Regions from separate parts of the Homo sapiens genome. Here region 1 is linked to region 2. Evidence: promoter capture Hi-C in 16 types of primary human blood cells and fetal thymus (Javierre and others, 2016). All regions are on one chromosome and are shown on one strand. The core of a region is centred on a gene start or on the middle of the fragment in contact, and the rest is flanking DNA. Distances in the headings are between cores, read along the strand shown. Region 1 holds the start of CLEC4G (C-type lectin domain family 4 member G). Region 2 overlaps ARHGEF18 (Rho/Rac guanine nucleotide exchange factor 18).

Region 1 (2,700 bases), core at 1-2,500, 370 kb after region 2:
CTGGGAGCCGCAGGGTGAGAGGGGCGAGGGCGGCGAGGATGGGGCGGGACTTCGGAGACCAGCCCCCGCCCCGCACCACCCGCCGCAGGCCTCCGCCCCGGCCCCCCTCCCATCGCGGCCGCAAGACCCCATCCCTGCGCCCACAGCCTCGACCGCGCCCCCTCACAGCAGCTGTGGCAGTCTCCGACCTCCTCCTTCAGGGCACCCAGCGCCGCCGTCTGCTTCGAGGCTGGAACGACCCCCGCCCCAAAATGCATGCCCCTCGGGTCACTTGGGAGGACTCAGGGGACCCCCTTCCAGCCTCAGGGACCATAGGGCCCCCACGCACTCGAGACTCCATCTCCGGGGTCTCAGAAACTCCCGCCCCTCACGCCCCGGGGGCCCAGGCGCCCGGCTCTGCACACACCGTTTGTCCTCAGCAGGTCGTGGCCGTCAAGCAGCGCCGCGCGCTCCGTGGAGGCTGAGGAGAGAGGCTCCTGCAGGCGAGGCCGGGAACTCGGGAATCCTCCCCTCGCCCGGGGGGTGCAGCGTCCCCCAACTCGGGAGCACGGAGCGGGCGGGCAGGCATACAGCTCACACGATGTGCACACACGCCGATGGGAGACAAACGCGCGGGGACTCGCGCACATACGAGCACGCCATGTGCACACGCGTGAGTGCACACGGCCCAAAGATGTACACACACTCTGCTCACACTCAGACGCGAACAGGACCCCAGGATGCAGCTGGTGCGCCATGCAGTGGGGGTTTTCTGTCCCCAGGGGGGCCGGATGCAACACCTCCCCATTGAGAGTCACTCACCCTTGGACAATAGGATACTCAGAATCACAGCCCAAAGGACTGTGGTGACCAGGACAGCCAGGGCCAAGAAGAGGGGTCTCCTGCTCCAGTGCACCCAGCGTCCCCAGGGCCCTGGCATAACAAGGACGGCATGCTGGGTCCCCCAGAACTGAGCCCTGGAGGCCTGAGTTACTCCCAGGAAACTGAGATTCAGAGAAGTTAAGTAACTTGCCTATGGTCACACAGCTTCTAAGCGGCAGAGTTGGAATTGGACCCTGGTCCAACTGGCTCTATGGCCTGTGGTGTCTCTCCTGCACCCACAACCCTGGCCTGTCTCGACTCTTCCCTCCCCTCCCCCATCAAACCCCAGACACTGGGGCAGGGATGGGGCAGTCTCCTTGCTCATACCTCCGGGGACCTCCTCGGAGCTGCCGCCCCACTTGCTGTACCTGGTGGTGTCCATGGCGATGCAGGCACCCAGTCCTGGGCAGAGATATAAATTTCACGCCTGTTCTCACTGGACCTACGCACTCCCTTCCTTCCTTCCCATTTTCTTGGCCTTAATTCCTGGCAACGGGAACCCATGGACCAATCACAGGATTGGGCCCTTTCAAGGCTGGGCTGGGCTGGGCTGGAGTGAGGCCGGGCGGTTCCAGCCTCCTGGTTCTGGCCACTGCAGCTCCATCCCCAGGCTGGTGCTGGAGGCTTCTCTTTGGAGCTTAGTCACCATCTCTTATGGGCCTGGGGCTGGAGGCTTCTCTTTGGAGCTTAGTCACCATCTCTTATGGGCCTGGGGCTGGGTTTTATCCCGCGAGGGACACACTGAACCCGACCAAATTGTAACCCCTGCTGGCTCCTGAGAAAGCCCCCTCAGGCATAGCCCCCCAGGCCAGTTCAGGTCCCTTCTCAACTCCCCTGCAGGTGCCTGCAGAGGCTGGGTTTGAACCTGACCTTGATCCAGTCCCTCTGTACCAGAAGGGAACAAACAGTTTTGTTAGGGAGGTAGCCGGCGGAGCTGCAGGACTCTACCACTGTATGGGTTCTAGGTAGCTTCTAGAAGCCTTAGTTTTCCCCACTGTAAAGGAGATAGCGATGGGCCTCTCTCACAAAGATGCTATGATAAAGAAACAAGACAGTCTTGCTGGCTCACACCTGTAATCCCAGCACTTTGGGAGGCCGACATGGAAGGATCACTGAGCCCAGGAGTTCCAGACCAGACCAGCCTGGGCAATATAACAAGACCCTCATTTCTGAAAAAAAAAAAAAAATATATATATATATATATATATGAAAACAAAAATTGAAAAAATAAAAAAATAAAGACAATGAGGTTATACATGTCTACCTAGCACCATTTCAGGCATATCAAAAACACTCAGTGTTCATGCATTCTTTCAACAAACATTGAGCACCTGCCATATGCCAGGCATTGATCTTGGAACTGGGGCCACATCAGAGAGTAAAATAAGCAAATTCCTCTCTTCTTGGAGCTAATATTCTAGAAGTGTGGGGAGACAGACTCCATACTCAACGTAATAAACATAATTGAAAACATAAGTTGTATAGCATAGTAGTTCCCAGCTGGGGGCAATTACGCCCACCAGGGGACATTTGGCTATGTCTGGAGACACTTTTGGTTGTCACAGAATGTGTGTGTGTGTGTGTGTGTGTGTGTGTGTGTGCTCCAGGCATCTAGTGGGTAGAGGCCAGGGATGCTGCGCAAAGCCCTACAATGCCTAAGACATCCCCCATAGCAAAGAATGATCTGACTCCTAATGTCCATAGTGCAAAAGGTGGGAACCGTAGTATACTCTATTCAAAAGTCATAAATGCTATGAAAAAACATTAAGGGAAGAAAAAATCCAGTAGGATAAGTACTTGGCAGGACTGGGATGGGCACTAGGCAGTGGGCAGTGGCTA
Region 2 (5,518 bases), core at 2,430-4,929:
CCTGAAGAATCAGTGTATCTGCCATGGATTACCAAAGTGTCTGCCTGTGACCCAGGTCCCTAAGAAGTTCTGTCCCTCTTGTGGCTGCTCAGCTCACCCTGTCTCCCTGCCCAGGCAGTTGAGGCTGGGATTTATATGCTAGCAGGTGGGGGAGTGAGCTGTGGGAACTGACAGTGACTCTTAAACCCTTTTATGGCTGATGCTGTGGGGGCTGATAGTGGAGGAGGCTGCCTGGGACTGAATCCAGGCTGATGGACAGCTCCTTGGAGAGAAGCATGGGGGTGGGGAGCAGGGTGCATCCCCAACAGAGCCCCTTTCCCTGAGGCCTCATTTCTCCTCTGGCTTAGCTCCCCTGGGAGAGTGACTCCCTTACAGCGTGTCTCCTGTCATCAGCCTTGGAAAGCAGGGAAGAATGGCCTTTTTGTCACCCTCTTAAGCTCTGTAATTGGCTGTCTGGGCACCTAATAGGAATTTCCCGGGGAAAGGGTGGGATTGGACTTGGGGTGGCAAGTAAGGCTTGAGAGAGGAGAACTGAGACCTTCAGTGAAGGGTCCCAGTGCCCCTTCCCCATCAACTGCCCCCATTACCCATTCTGCTCATGCTTTTTCATTCATTCCTCAATCTGTTGGTGCATGTCTGATGAGTGCAGTCTGTGCCTCGCTCACCTTGGTTTCCTTCCTGTGTGGCTCTTCTGCCACAATTCTGTCCCTCTTCCTTCTATATGTGCTTCCTCACCCCCTCAGAATGCCATCTCCTGAGTGTAATGCATCGCTGCCTCTGGACACTGCCATATAACCTATCCATCCCACTATCTACCCATTCATCCCTGCAACCATGCAGCCATCCAACTATCTATCCAGCCAACCAGCCAATCAGCCAACTCTTCAACCATCCATCCTTCCATCCATCCATCCATCCATCCATCCAATCAGCCAACTCTTCAACCATCCATCCTTCCATCCATCCATCCATCCATCCATCCACCCATCCACCCATTCTTCCATCCATTCTTCCATCCATCCATCCATCCATCCACTCTTCCATCCATCCAACCATCCATCCATTCAACATCCATTCATCCATCTACCTATCCATCCACCCATCCACTCATACATCCAATTATCTACTCATTCATCCATTCACCTATCCATCCATCTACCTGTCCAACCATTCATCCATCCACCTATCCATCCATCTACCTATCCAACCATTCACCCATCTGTCTATCCACTCATTCATCCATCCATCCATCCTTCTACACATCCACCCATCCATTCAACCATCCACTCACCCATCCATCCATCCATCCATCCAACCATCTATCCATTTATCTACCCATTTATCCAAATATATGGGCACTGACTCTGTGCCCAACCCAACACAGCAGAGGATAGCCTGGTGATTGGGATCTCTTCTTTGAATTCAGAAACATCTGAATTTGACTCCCAGCTCTACCTCATACCAGATTGGTATGGCCTTGGTAAAGTCAGTGCACCTCTCTAAACCTCAGTTTCCCTTTCTATAAAATGAGGACTCAGAGTTGCTGTGAGTATAGAAGAGTGAAAAGTACATGATGGGCTTAGCACTAAGCCAGACATATAGAAAGTGATTGATACAAGATTTTACCTTTTGGAGCTTGGGGATGTAAAAGTGGATCAGATATAGTCACTGCCCTCACAGACCTCATGCTCTAGAGCATGGATCAGCAAACCTTTTCTATAAAGAGCTAGGCAGAGCAATCCAAAGTCCTATGGCTAAAATTGTCTGCAGAGGATCTGAGACAGAGCCCTCAGTTGCCAGGCAGGAAGAGTGGTAGGAACAGCACAGAGATACCAGGAGAATGGTGAGTTGGGTGTGCATGTGTGTGACAGGGAGGTAAGAGGACAGGCTGAGGAGGGCTCTGAATGTCATTCTAAGGGGACTGGAGTCTATAGGGGTGGGGATCAGTAGAAGGGGAGTGACCATCAGAGGGTTATATCAAAAGGACACACCAACTCCAGGACAGAAGATGGACTACAGGGGAGAGACTGGTAGCTGAGGATCAGTGACAAATGTGATTGGCAATCGTTTGGGGCAATTGTGGTTGGTAATTGACAGAGCTCAGTCTATGACACTGGGATTAGGGCTTAGCTCATAATATTGGAATCAGGACACAGCCTATGACATCAGGATTGGAGCTCAGTCTATGATGCCAGATCAAGATTCAGTCTATGACACCAGGATTGGGGCTCAGTCTATGATACCAGGATAAGAGCTAAGACTATGACACCAGGATTAGGGCTTAGCCTATGACACTAGGATCAGGGATCAATATATGACACCAGGATAAAGGCTTAGTCTATGACACTAGGAGGGGGGTTCATTCTATGATACAAGAATGAATGCTCAACCAATGACAGCCAGATGAAGTTCAGTCTGTGATATCAGGATCAAGGCTCAGTATATGACACCAGGATCATGGCTCAGTCTGTGACACAAAGATTGGAGTTCAATCTGTAAAACTAGGATCAGAGTTGAGTCAGTCATTGGGAACTAGGATCACAGTTGAGTTCATCATCAGGTCAAGCTCAACCTGTTCCTCGGTCAGAAGCTTCCCTATAAAAACAAAACTCAGCCAGGCACAGTGGCTCATGCCTGTAATCCCAGCACTTTGGGAGGCCGAGGTGGGAGGATCATATGAGACCAGGAGTTCGAGACTAGCCTAGCCAACATGGTGAAACCCCATTTCAACTAAAAATGCAAAAATTAGCTGGACATGGTGGTACACATCGGTGGTCCCAGCTACTCAGAAGTCTGAGACAGGAGAATCGCTTGTACCCAGGAGGTGGAGACTGCAGTGAGCCAAGATGGAACCACTCCAGCCTGGGTGACAGAGCAAGACTCTCTTGAAACAAAACAACAACAACAACAACAACAACAAAACATGCACAATCACACAACCCTGGCATTTCTTTTCTTTTCTTTTTTCATTCTTTTCCTTTTTTTTTTTCTTTGAGACAGAGTCTCACTCTGTCACCCAGGCTGGAGTGCAATGGCACAATCTCAGTTCACTGCATCCTGCCCTTCCCTGGCTGAAGAGATTCCCATGTGTCAGCCTCCCTAGTAGCTGGAATTATAAGCACATGCCACCATGCCCAGCTAATGTTTGTATTTTCAGTAGAGACTAGGTTTCGCCATGTTGGTCAGGCTGGTCTCAAACTCCTCACCTCAAGTGATCCGCCTTCCTCGGCCTCCCAAAGTGCTGGGATTACATGTGTGAGCCACTGGGCCCGGCCAACCCTGGCCTTTCACCTTTGATCTTTGGATCCCAGACCTTCAGGGTTCACAGATACAGGGCATGAGGTCCTGCAGGCTACAGGAGGCCTCAGGCCTCCACAAGGACCCTGTCCAGTGAAGCAAGCCAACCCTGCAGGCTCTCCTCCAGCCCTAAGGGGACTTGGCTGAGGAATGGGACTGCCTTTCCCCTCCCAAGCTCCCACCAACCTCCAGGACCCTCCCCCACATCTGGCTTTCCTCCTCCTTCACAGCCTGCTTGTTTCGTTTCTGTGAGTCATAGATGCTGCTTCGGCTTCTGGGTGGGGAAGAGAACAGATGCAAAGCTTAACAACAGCAGCTGAACAGAGTCCCTCCAACCAGCCCGGGAGGGCAACCTGGAAAGCAGTGATGGTGGAAACCCTGGCATTGCTCGTTACTGTCCAGCCACTCATCTGTGAATACAGGTGGCATCAGGGGGCAAATTTACCTTGAAGCAATGGAAACTGAAGCTTCAGGCCCCATGTGTACCTGCCCCATCCAAAGCTCTGCAAGAGGCTCCAACAAAAAACTTTTTAGGAACAGCTTTATTGAGCTACCATATACTTCACCCATTTAAAGCATACAATTCAGTGGTTTTAGGCCAGGTGCAATGGCTCATGCCTGTAATCCCAGCACTTTGGGAGGCCAAGGCGGGGGGATTGCCTGAGCTCAGGAGTTCCGGACCAGCCTGGCCAACGTAGCAAGACCCCCGTCTCTACTAAAAATAAAAAAAATTAGCCAGGTGTGGTGGTGCATACGTGTAATCCCAGCTACTCAACAGGCTGAGGCAGGAGAATCACTCAAATCCCGGAGGTGGAGGTTGCAGTGAGCCAAGATGGCGCCACTGCACTCCAGCCTGGGCAACAGAGTGAGGCTCTATCTCAAAAAAGAGACTGCATAACAGCGGTTCCTCAAAAAGCTAAGCATAGATTAGCATGTACTCCAGCAATTCCCTTCCTAGGTAACGACCCAAGACAATGGAAAACACACATCCGTGCAATTGCGTACATCTGTATGCAATTGTTCATGGCAGCGTGATTTGAAATAACCAAATGGTGAAAACGACCCAAATGTCCATCAACAGATCAATGGATACACGAAATGTGGTATCTCCATGCAATTGAATATTATTCAGCCCTAAAACAAATAAAGCACTGGCCGGGCACCGTGGCTCACACCTGTAATCCCTACACTTTGGGAGGCTGAGGCATGCAGATCACCTGAGGTCAGGAGTTCTAGACTAGCCTGGCCAACATGGTGAAACCCCAACTCTATTAATCACACAAAATTAGCCAGGTGCAGTGGTGTGCACCTGTAATCCCAGCTACTCAGGAGGCTGAGGCAGGAGAATGGCTTGAACTCGGGAGGCGGAGGTTGTGGTGAGCTGAGATCACGCCACTGCACTCCAGCTTGGGGGCAACAGAGCAAGACTCTGTGGAAGAAGAAGAAGAAGAAGAAGAAGGAGAAGGAGAAGGAGAAGGAGAAGGAGAAGGAGAAGGAGAAGGAGAAGGAGAAGGAGAAGGAGAAGGAGAAGGAGAAGGAGAAGGAGAAGGAGAAGGAGAAGGAGAAGGAGAAGGAGAAGGAGAAGGAGAAGGAGAAGGAGGAGAAGAAGGAGAAGAAGGAGAAGAAGGAGAAGAAGGAGAAGAAGAAGGAGAAAAGAAGAGGAAGAAGAGGAAGAAGAAGACAAGAAGAGGAAGAGGAAGAAGAAAGGAAGAAGGAAGGAGAAGAAGAGGAGGAGGAAGAAGGAGAAGGAGGAAGAAGAAGGAAGAAGGTGGAGGAGGAGGAGGAAGAGGAGGAGGAGGAAAAACAATGTGGGCATTGGGTACTTGCATTTGGTCTACGGGACCATTAGCATCATTGATCAACTGAGGGCTTTTTCCTAGAGCAGGCATAACAAATTGATTTCATACATAAGCCAACTTGGATCACCTGGTGATGGCTGTTGGAACTGGTGTGTTGGGAAGAATCCTGAGGGGGCAAATGGCTAAGCAGGAAATTGACTCATGATTGACTAGCAATGTCTGCCATAGGCTTGGGATGGGGAAGAGGTGACACGTATGTTGGCTTCAAGATCATTGAGACCATCTTCCCCCTCCCCTCACCAACTCATTTTATAGTTGAGAAAACTGAGGTCCAGGGTGACCAGCAACAGATGCAGAATCCAGGTCCTGGCTTCCTCAGCACTCCCAGCTTATCCCTGACACCTTGTCCCTCCTTTCTCCAC

What was found. Contacts are between HindIII fragments. The CHiCAGO score rates a contact against its expected background, and 5 or more counts as called.
Region 1: a contact is called between the fragment with the promoter of CLEC4G here and a fragment that was not itself captured in region 2, in 2 of 17 cell types (erythroblasts and megakaryocytes). The highest score is 7.8, in erythroblasts.

What each region holds. Positions count from the first base shown.
Region 1 is chr19:7,730,860-7,733,559 of GRCh38, forward strand. CLEC4G (C-type lectin domain family 4 member G) reads right to left here and starts at 1,251. Exons shown (of 9, transcript NM_198492.4): 1 at 1,189-1,251; 2 at 802-912; 3 at 407-460; 4 at 167-229. The coding sequence starts at 1,243. RefSeq lists promoters at 1,246-1,852, 1,246-1,558, 1,246-1,509 and a cis regulatory region at 1,316-1,325. The HindIII fragment of the contact is 11,720 bases long and covers 1-2,700 here.
Region 2 is chr19:7,357,261-7,362,778 of GRCh38, forward strand. The region is part of intron 1 of ARHGEF18 (Rho/Rac guanine nucleotide exchange factor 18); the gene reads left to right. Among named protein-coding and RNA genes, the nearest start is that of ARHGEF18, 11 kb to the left of the region's middle. The HindIII fragment of the contact is 165 bases long and covers 3,598-3,762 here.